Linked DNA regions of Homo sapiens: region 2 is linked to region 1. The links are contacts of gene promoters, found by promoter capture Hi-C in blood cells and fetal thymus (Javierre and others, 2016). All regions are on one chromosome and are shown on one strand. The core of a region is centred on a gene start or on the middle of the fragment in contact, and the rest is flanking DNA. Distances in the headings are between cores, read along the strand shown.

The links. The method cuts DNA at HindIII sites, captures the fragments that hold promoters and counts their contacts. A CHiCAGO score of 5 or more calls a contact.
Region 2: a fragment that was not itself captured here is called in contact with the fragment with the promoter of VPS54 in region 1 in 1 of 17 cell types (non-activated CD4 T cells); the score reaches 5.4 in non-activated CD4 T cells.

The regions. Positions count from the first base shown.
Region 1 is chr2:64,017,118-64,021,768 of GRCh38, forward strand. It overlaps VPS54 (VPS54 subunit of GARP complex), which reads right to left and starts at 2,311. Exons shown (of 23, transcript NM_016516.3): 1 at 1,821-2,311. RefSeq lists an enhancer at 1,495-1,564 and a silencer at 1,725-2,434. The HindIII fragment of the contact is 5,022 bases long and covers 1,673-4,651 here.
Region 2 is chr2:64,328,975-64,333,625 of GRCh38, forward strand. It overlaps LOC105374769 (a long non-coding RNA gene), which reads right to left and starts at 3,805. Exons shown (of 3, transcript NR_187908.1): 1 at 3,659-3,805; 2 at 3,051-3,245; 3 at 1,507-1,693. The HindIII fragment of the contact is 760 bases long and covers 2,196-2,955 here.

The DNA.
Region 1 (4,651 bases), core at 1,061-3,560:
GATCACAAGGTCAGGAGTTCAAGACCAGCCTGGCTAATATGGTGAAACCCCCGTCTCTACTAAAAATACAAAAATCAGCCAGGCGTGGGGGCGCCTGTAGTCCCAGCTACTCAGGAGACTGAGGCAGAAGAATCACTTGAAGCCGGTAGGCGGAGGTTGCGGTGAGCCAAGATAGCGCCACTGCACTCCAGCCTGGGCAACAGAGCAAGACCCCGTCTCAAAAAAAAAAAAAGAAAAGAAACAAAAAAAAAGAGTGTGATGAAGAAATTCTGCAAAATTTGCCGTTTCATGGGCTATATAGGAATTGACTTTAATTCTGACACAAAAAATTATCTTATCCAGAAATCAATTTTAACTTTCCAGAAAATATAAGCATATGCAAAAGTAATCACCTTTTCCTAGTAAACTTTTAGTATTAAATTCTAATTTCAAAAACACTTCAGAAAGCCAAATGCTGTAGTAACAATACTTCTACAAGAACAAAATATACGAATATCAACAACAAAACAGTCTTTACGATTTGGTTGTGATGCATTCTTTATTTTAAAAACCCATTAAAACATTTTTCATTTATTTAAAAAAGTGATCCTCAGACTGCCTCTTAGATTGGTAGTGTAATAATTCTTAAGTTATCAGAACATAATTTAAAAATAGCCAAATTACAATAAAATCGCAAACATCTACTGTCGTCCCAAACAACTATCAATTACAGCTACTGGTAACCTATCATAAGCAATGATGAGCACTACGAACCATCAACATCCATTTCTAGGAAATCCGATTCTGACTACACTACAAATACAGTCAAACAAATCCCATCATTCCCTCTGTTCCATCATTTAACTGCTTAGAAATCATTTAGGCTCTGAAGGTGCTTTTTCCAATTAGAACTCCCCTTCGGATTTATAAAAGTGAATGTACATCAAAATCTGCAGTTTAGGTTATCGCAGTAATATTTCTCGGTATACTACAAGTAATTTATCACGGTATTACTTAAAGGCGTTTAGTATTAAGACCGCCCTTGATTTGACAAATCAGAAATACAGCCAATTAAAAACAAAAACAGTCCAAACAATTTAATTCTTCGAAAGAGCCTCAATAAAGACCAAAAAATAAAGCTGGTTAGAAGAAAAAAATTTTTTTTTGAAACGCCTGTCAGTCAAAATGCTAAAAATACCATCTTGAACTCAACACATGAACAGACCAAACGGCTAATTATAATTGGCAAGCCAAAGTTCCCAAGTCAACGACGGGAGAGCAGAAACGGCAGAGAGGGCCTGCCCTTTCTGTCTATGCAGAGATGGAAGGAGGCAGAACTGAAGAAAATTATTGCACAAATTATTTCAAGCTACATTGCCAAAATGCAAAATACTGAGTAACTCTTTGGGTTAGCCTTCCCCGGAGAGAAAAACAAACAAATGTTTTAACGATTCCAGTAGAATCCAATAGGACTAAGGGCCTGGCTGGAAAAAGAAAAGGAAAGTTTGGGGGCAGCGTCTAAGGGGGTGATGGAAGTTCCAGAGCTGGGATCCCGGAAAGATAAGAGAGGGGCAAGAGCGGCGTTTGCGGTCGCTGACAGGAGGCAGGGAACACAGCTGCCAGCCCCGATCCCGGAGGGAGAGTGAAAAGGAAAAAAAAAAAAAAAAAAGGAAGTGGCGGAGAGGAGCATGGAAGCTTCAGTGCCGGTCAGCTGTGACCGAAACTCGGTCCGTTTGGGGCTGGGGAGGAGAGCCGAGGGGGTGGGGTCTCGGTCCCTCTCTCCGCTGTAGGTCGGGGTGAGAGTGGGCTGAGACGCGCGGGGGGCCGCGGGGCACACCTACCTGCGGGTCCCGGGGCAGCCGCCCTGAGCGAGGCCTAGTGCATCGCCGCCGCCTCCAGCCCTCCACGTCGCACCGAGGCTGCTGCTCCACGGCCGCCGCCGCCCGGCGCCCGGCCGGGCCCGAGCCCGGGTTCCCGCCCCCGCCCCGCGCCCGCTGGCCAGTCGGCCCGGGGAGCACAGGGCCGCCCTCTCGAGCCCAGCTTCACTCAGGGGTGAGAGGTGGCAGCGGCGGCTCCCTCACGTCTCTCCCGGGTGTCCTGTCAGCCAGCAGTTTCCCCCGGGTCCGCAGCGCCGCCTCCGCCGCTGCTGCCACCGCCTCTCCCACATCCCCGGCCTCCAGGGGAGCCGCCGCCGCCGCGCCACGACCACTGCCTCTAGCGCTTCTGCTCCCGACTCCACTGCTTTCCCTCACCCCGCCGGCCCAGCCGGCTCGGCCCGGTCGGGTGCGGGGAGACAGCGCCGGAGGCCGCCGCAGCCCCCAGCCCACAATCCACCGCGCGGCTCCGCCGGGGCGGGAGGGCCGCGGCCCGGGCCGGGGGGAGCGCCCGCCGCCTGGGGAAAGCGGCCTTGGCGCAGGCCGGCGTGCCCGTCGCAGGCGCAGCCAGAGTTCTCTCGGGGCGGGGAATACACCGCGTGGCTCCCCTGCGCCTCCTCTAATAGTCCTACACGCAGACAAATCCACGCTGAATTCCACTTTCCCCACCACCCTTCCCCCCAACTCCCAGTTTTCAGGAACACCCAGAAAACCTCCTGCCGCCTTCCCCGGGACTGGGACGCGACCCCTCCAGCGTAGCCCTCGCCACCCCCAAGACCAACCGACTCGAAACATCCCTAAATCACCCGGGACCTATTAAAGCAAATACTTCCACGAGATTCCTCCTCTCCCCCACCCCCTCGAAGTAAATGCTTTTCAGCTGTTCCCTAGTAAATGCCCTTCCAAAGGTTAAAGGTCACCCCTCCGCAACAACCCAGTTCTCTCTATTGAGGCCTTTTCCCCATCCAGTCCTCCCCTCCAAGTCTTCCCCAAGTTCCAGGCCTTCCTCCCAGACACTGTAATCAGTTATTCCTGTTACTTGACTGAGATACTTGGAGTGTGTATGATAATTAATACCTTCTAATTCTGACTTCAGCCTGGTTTCACAGGACTTGCAACTTTAAACCAATAAAACACAGTCCACAAGAAAGGGAAGGTCTTAGTATATAAATATAAAGACACACACACACACACACACACACATATATTTTAGGAAGAAAAAGATCCTCAATCCTTTGAGTGCTTGTGACTTAATTTTGGGAAGATTTTATTCAATGTTGAAATTCTTGCCTAAAAATAAATTTCAAGCATTTATAAGACATAGTATGTTTTAACAAATCAAAAGTGAAAATGTAACTCTTATAGTTGGGGGGTTGAAAAAAATGTTGATCCAAGTTTCACTTCTAAGAAGTCACTTTGAAAACTGCAAACATAACTTTTATGAAATAATATTTTCCCCACCAAAGAGCTAAAGTTGGGGAAAGAGGACAAAAAGTAAGGAAGCATCAAAAATAGTTGAGAGAAAACTCTTACATTATATTTTTCTAAGTTCAATCCTCTAAAATTATGTAAGAAACAAAGTGAGAAAATCATTCCCCAATATGAAATAAATTTAACTGTAAAAGAGTGAAGTCCTCTTAAATCCCTGATCACTTATAAAACCAGATGAGTTTACATAGAAGCAGAGTAGAATGGTGGTTACCAAAGACTGGGGGGTAAAGGGTGATGAGGAAAGGGGAAATGTGAGTCAAAGGGTATAAAGTTTCAGGTAGGAGGAATAAATTTTAGTGATCTATTGCACAGCACGATGACCACAGTTAATAACAATGTATTTAATATTCCAGAATAGCTAAAAGAGTACTTTCTTTGTTTTGTTTTGTTGAGACTGTGTCTGGCTCTGTTGCCCAGGCCAGAGTGCAGTGGCATGATCTTGGCTCACTGCAACCTCTGCCTCCCAGGTTGAAGCAATTCTCCTGCCTCAGCCTCCCGAGCCGCTGGGACTACAGGCGCGCACCACCACGCCCAGCTAATTTTTGTATTTTTAGTAGAGACGGGGTTTCACCATATTTGCCAGGCTGGTCTCCAAACTCTTGACCTCGTGATCCACCTGCCTCAGCCTCCCAAAGTGCTGGGATTACAGGCATGAGCCACCACGCCCAGCCAAGAGTACATTTTAAATGTTCTCACCATAAAAAAAATAAGCTGGGTACAGTGGCCCACACTTGTAGTCTCAGCTGAAGTGGAAGGATGCCTTGAAACTAGCAGTTTGAGTCCAGCCTGGACAACATAGCCAGACACCATCTCTTAAAAAAAAAAAAAAAAGTAGGTGAGGTGAAAGATATGTTAATTAGCTTGGTTTAGTTATTCCACAGTGTGTACATATATCAAAACATCACATTGGATCCTATAAATATATATAATTATTATTTGTCAGTTTAAAAATTTTTTATTAAAAAAGATGTGTTTATACTGTGAAAATATTAACAAGAGGATTAACCAAGTTTTATCTAAGGCCAGAAAGGAAAATAATTTTTCTTTATGTCTAGAATCAGTTCATAGATTATGCTAGGAATTGGATTTAGCAAATTCTTATATTTTGACCCCCCTCAGGAAGTCAACAACAGTTCAAAAACTTCCTTAAGCCTGGCTGGTTTGGCCTTTAAAAAAATATTTGTGTTTATACCCCACCTTGTTCCAGAAAAGATTCCAACTTGGCACTTGGACTAAATGATAGCCGTCAGTTGTCTCCCAGACACTAGAACAAGACAGTCTGGTTTGCTTCCTCATTATCCATCTGT
Region 2 (4,651 bases), core at 1,326-3,825, 310 kb after region 1:
TTCAAACTGGTTTTGCCAGAGGCTGCAAGACTCTAAGCTCTGTCCTGATGTTCCCCAACAGGCATTAATTGCTCTCCCCTGAATGCATTAGCACTGCCAGACTATTACGGATGATTAGCCTCCGTGCCCAGCTACAAACGTCCATCTTTCTTAGTTGGTAGCAGAGGAAATAGCCTTTTAGGACCTTCTCCTTGCACAGGATGGATGCCGTCCTGGACCTTCCTGCTTCTGCGTTTCCCGCCACCTTTAAAGAAAGTGCATCCAGCAGTCCTGGCCACTGGGTCTTTATTGGAAAAGCTGTTTTCCAAGATGATTTAACTCTGAAAAAAAAAATGAAAAGCCCACAAGAACTGAAGACCCTGTGTGCGTGTGTGTGAGTCTGTATTAAGACCCCTTTTATAGGAGACAGACTCCTTTTGGGGAAGAGGGAGAGGTAGGGAAAGGACGAAGTGAGTAAAGGCACTCTCAGCTAAATCCTGCATGCCCATAGTTCCTTCATTGTATGGTACCTCACACCCTTACAGGGCTTTACCGAGCGCTTGTTCATCTGTTAGCTTACAGGTAAGAGAATCATTGTCCTCATTCTCTGAGTGAAGAAACTGATGCTCACAGTAGTTAAGTGACTTTGCCCAAAATTACTGAGCTGAGGAGTGACAGAATGGGGACTGAAGTCCCAGTCTCTTAATTCTGTGCTCCTCGGATACCCCCAAACCACCTCCATGGTCTTCCAGCAGCCTGAACATTTATCCATTTATGGAGGTCAGGGTGTGGGTCCCACTGCAGCCTGCTGCCCCATTTAAACTTTATTTCTGAATCTGTACATTTAAGCAAACCACTTTGTTTCAGAGGCATCCAGAGAGTAGCCTTACTTAACCTTCTTCTGGAGGTGTGTCTATTTGGTGGAGAATGGTGGAGGGGCCTGGAGGGAAGGAAAGGGAGGAGCCAGTAGGGAATTTTCACAGTTTTCCACCAGATGAGGCCAAAGCCCAGAAGTCAGACAAATCCACGATTCTCCTGGCATTCTACAGAGTTGCCAACTCCCTGCCCTGCTCTTTGCTCTCATTATTCCTCTGGGGTGGTTTCCAAGGGTGGAGAAGTGTAGGCTGAGGAAATGTCTGTGTTGAGGGAGGGCAGATGCTGTGAGGAGGGAGGTGTTTACACCAAGCATCGAGCCAGGCCTTGGAGTCACAGGGACAGGCCCAGAGCAGGAAGTGTCCTCCAAGCTAGAAGTCCTCTAGTTCAGAGGTTCTTTGTCTCCTCAAGAACCTCCTGGAACCTCCTGGACATTGTAGCATCCTCTGCAATAGCCACTACCCCTAGCAGTGCAGATGGAGTACTGTAGTGAAATGAACAAATTTTTTGGAGCTCAATAACTCTGGGTTCAAATCCCACTTCTGCTTATGAGCTGAAAGATCTTGAGTAAGTCCTGTAACCTCCCTAAAGATCAGTTGAGATTACCAATATCCACTGCCTTGGCTGTTCTGAGGTTGAAATGAATCACGTTAAACAAATAGCAAATGGTGGCTTTAATTAGTAGAGGGTTAGAGGGCAGCCAGACAGTGGCAGGACAAAAAAGGAGGGCTGCTTGTCCTGTAGGCAGTAGCAAGGAGCGGGAGTGGATTCCACAGTGAAGCAGCTTCCAAGGGCTTTTTGTAAGCAGCCCCTATGCTGGCTCTGGGAGAGCTCTGAGAAACTAGTTTGAAAAGCATAGAAGTCATAAAATAGCACCAGTATTTTTTTTCTAGTGTGAGCAAAAATATTCATGCAGACAAATCCAAGCCAATCTTCTGGGACTAAGACTCTAAATATTACTTGTGAGTCACCCCAGCTTCCTTCCAAGAGAAAGACTCCCCCATCCCCTCACCCAACACCCCCGTCCGTGACACATTAAGATTGTAGCTTTTCAGCTTCTTCCACCAAACTCTCAGTCCCTCATCGTGGGCATGAGGACAGCCCTGTGTGCAGAAAACGTGTTTCTCCATTTCGGTCTCTCTCTTGGTTAAAGCCAATTTCCAAAAAAACCAAAACCACCTTATCAGAGCAAGACCCATGTCAAGCTCCGCAGCAGGCACTAGGTGGCGCTAGATCCCATGTTATTAAGGCAACTCTAAAGCTGCGCCCTTTTCTGGAAAAATGTTTCTGTTGTGAGATCCTCTCTTTCCCAGAGACCTGAGACCACCTCAGTTTATACCACAAGCTTAAAGCGCCACCAGAAGATCGCATACTATCTCAGGAGCCCCAGCTTTGCTGCTAACCTAGTCCTTTTCAGGGTGTGGCTGTGGAAGGAGTTTCTAGACCTGAGGCTGGAGACCCCAAGTCCTTTGCTGAACTGTAAATAATATTAGGAACAAGTAGTCCATTTCAACTTCTGCTCTGCCCTGAGGCGCAGGAAGGAAAACAACTTTTTCCCTTAGGAGGAGGTGAGGAAAAAAAAGAGGCAGATCCTAGAAGCTCCTTTGTGAGAGCAGCCAAGCATCTTCCCTGCCCTCTCCCGCAGAATGGAGGCCCACCCCGACCTCAGGTCATTTCCTTCCATGGCCAGCCCCCTCTCAGGGTGAAACATGATCCTCAGTGCCCCTCTGGAGGTAAGCTGTAGGTTCTTTTTTTCTCCAGGGATCTGAGCTGAGGTTGCCCTGAAATGCCTGTTTAATTTCATTGCCGAGAGCACACCTTCTCATTATTTCGAGAGCTGTGACCCCAAAGCACTTATGAACAATAGCAGCAACTGGCAGTTATAAGCTATTTACAGTTTTCTAAGCGTTATGAGCACTCTTGATGCCTGGAGAGGCAGGTGAGTTGCATTTTCTGTTTGCAGATACAGTGACTGACACCCCAGGGTCTCATTGGAACTGCTGGCACTGATGTTGTCTCTTGGAAATGATGATGATCATTGTTGCTTATTATAATTTTCACTGTTATGTTCCCTTTGATGTGTAAGAGGCCAAACAGAACACAAGCTTTTGGTTAATGGGTTTCCTGTTGGCTGAGTCTATCTGGGCTGAATGTGGAGAACCACTGAAAGGAGGTGAATGCCCTGAGCAGACCTTTACCTTCTTGGCCATGTGAGAGTTTACTGCAGTAGGAAGCTGGGCTCCGCAGAGTAAAGGGCAGGTGTGTGGGGAAGCCTTCCTTGCCCCTTCCACCGTGTGAAGACATAGGGAGACGATGGCCATCTATGAACCAGGAGGCAGGCCCTCCCAAGGCCTGTTGCTGGCACTTTGATCTTGGACTTCCAGCCTCTAGAACTGTGAGAAAAGAGTGCCTGCTGTTTAAGCCACCCAGTCTGTGCTATTTTTGTTAGAGCAGTCCGAATGGACTAAGACAGAAATTGGCATGCCTCTGTGACGTCGCAGAGACATTTAAGCCCTCAAAGAGGCCAGCCCCCTCTCAGGGTTTTTCTGGAAAAATGTTTCTGTTGTGAGATCCTCTCTTTCCCAGAGACCTGAGACTAAATGGTGCAATATAGTTGAGGCAACACAGTATATATAAATAAAAAGAAAATGAATGACTCAGAGAAGTTCTAGCAAGAGTCCAGAAACCCAATATCCTAGCTTGGCCGTGCAGAGGTTCCCTGTAGGGCAAAGAGTGGGGAAGGAGTTGGTGGGGCTGGGAAGAGGGGGAGGAAAGGCCCTGTTAGGTGTATTCCTGTTAGGAATACCTGGTGGCCTTTGCTGGGCTTTACTTTCTGCATAAGAAGTGGTTTTCCCCAAGCTGACGTCCAGGCTCTAGATGTCCAGCTGGGGTGTAATCAAAGGCTTTGGGCACCAAGTGCCTGGCTGATGTTTTGCACCTACCGGATACTCTTAAGTCCAAAGTTGCCAGGCACTGACTGCCTTGAGCATTGTTGAGATTACCACGGAGACAGCCTGTTCCATGGCCCATGAAGTCAGAGAGAGGTCACCTAGGAACCGGTGGGCTTCACCTTCTAGCTCACATCCCCACAAGTTTCTGCTCCTCGGGTCCTCAGAGGCTTGGATGAAGTTCAGGCCCATCACCCCCACCCCATCACAAACTCTCCCCCTTCCCTTCCACCACACTTTGGGAAAGTACTTCTCTTCCCTCATATTTGCTTGAAGAGCTTTTCTTTTAAAAATAAACACAATTATCGTTTTATAGGAAATGAACATACATGTAGAAATCCAACAAAAGGATTTATAGTAAAAAATAGGTCTCCTTCCCACCCCTGTCCCCCAGCACCCAGGTTCTCTTCCAAGAGGTACCCTCTAATACTCCTTGTTGACAGAAAGAGCCAAACTCTGTAAAATATTTGCAAAGATTTATTCTGAGCCAAATATGAGTGACCATGGCCCATGACACAGCCCTCAGGAGGGCCTGAGAACATGTGCCCAAGGTGGTCAGGGCACAGCTTGGTTTTATACATTTTAGGGAGACGTGAGACTTCAATCAAATACAGTTAAGAAATACATTGGTTTGCTCCAGAAAGGTGGGACAACTTGTAGGTGGGGGAGAGGTGGGGGCTTCCAGCTTATAGGTAGATTTTAAAGTTTTCTGGTTGACAATTGGTTGAGTTTATCTAAAGACCTGGGACCAATAGAAAGGAAATGTTTAGGTTAAGATAAAGGATGGTGGTGACCAAGTTTTATTGTTCTGAAGAAGCTTTCAGCAGACTTCAGAGAGAGCAGGTTGTAAA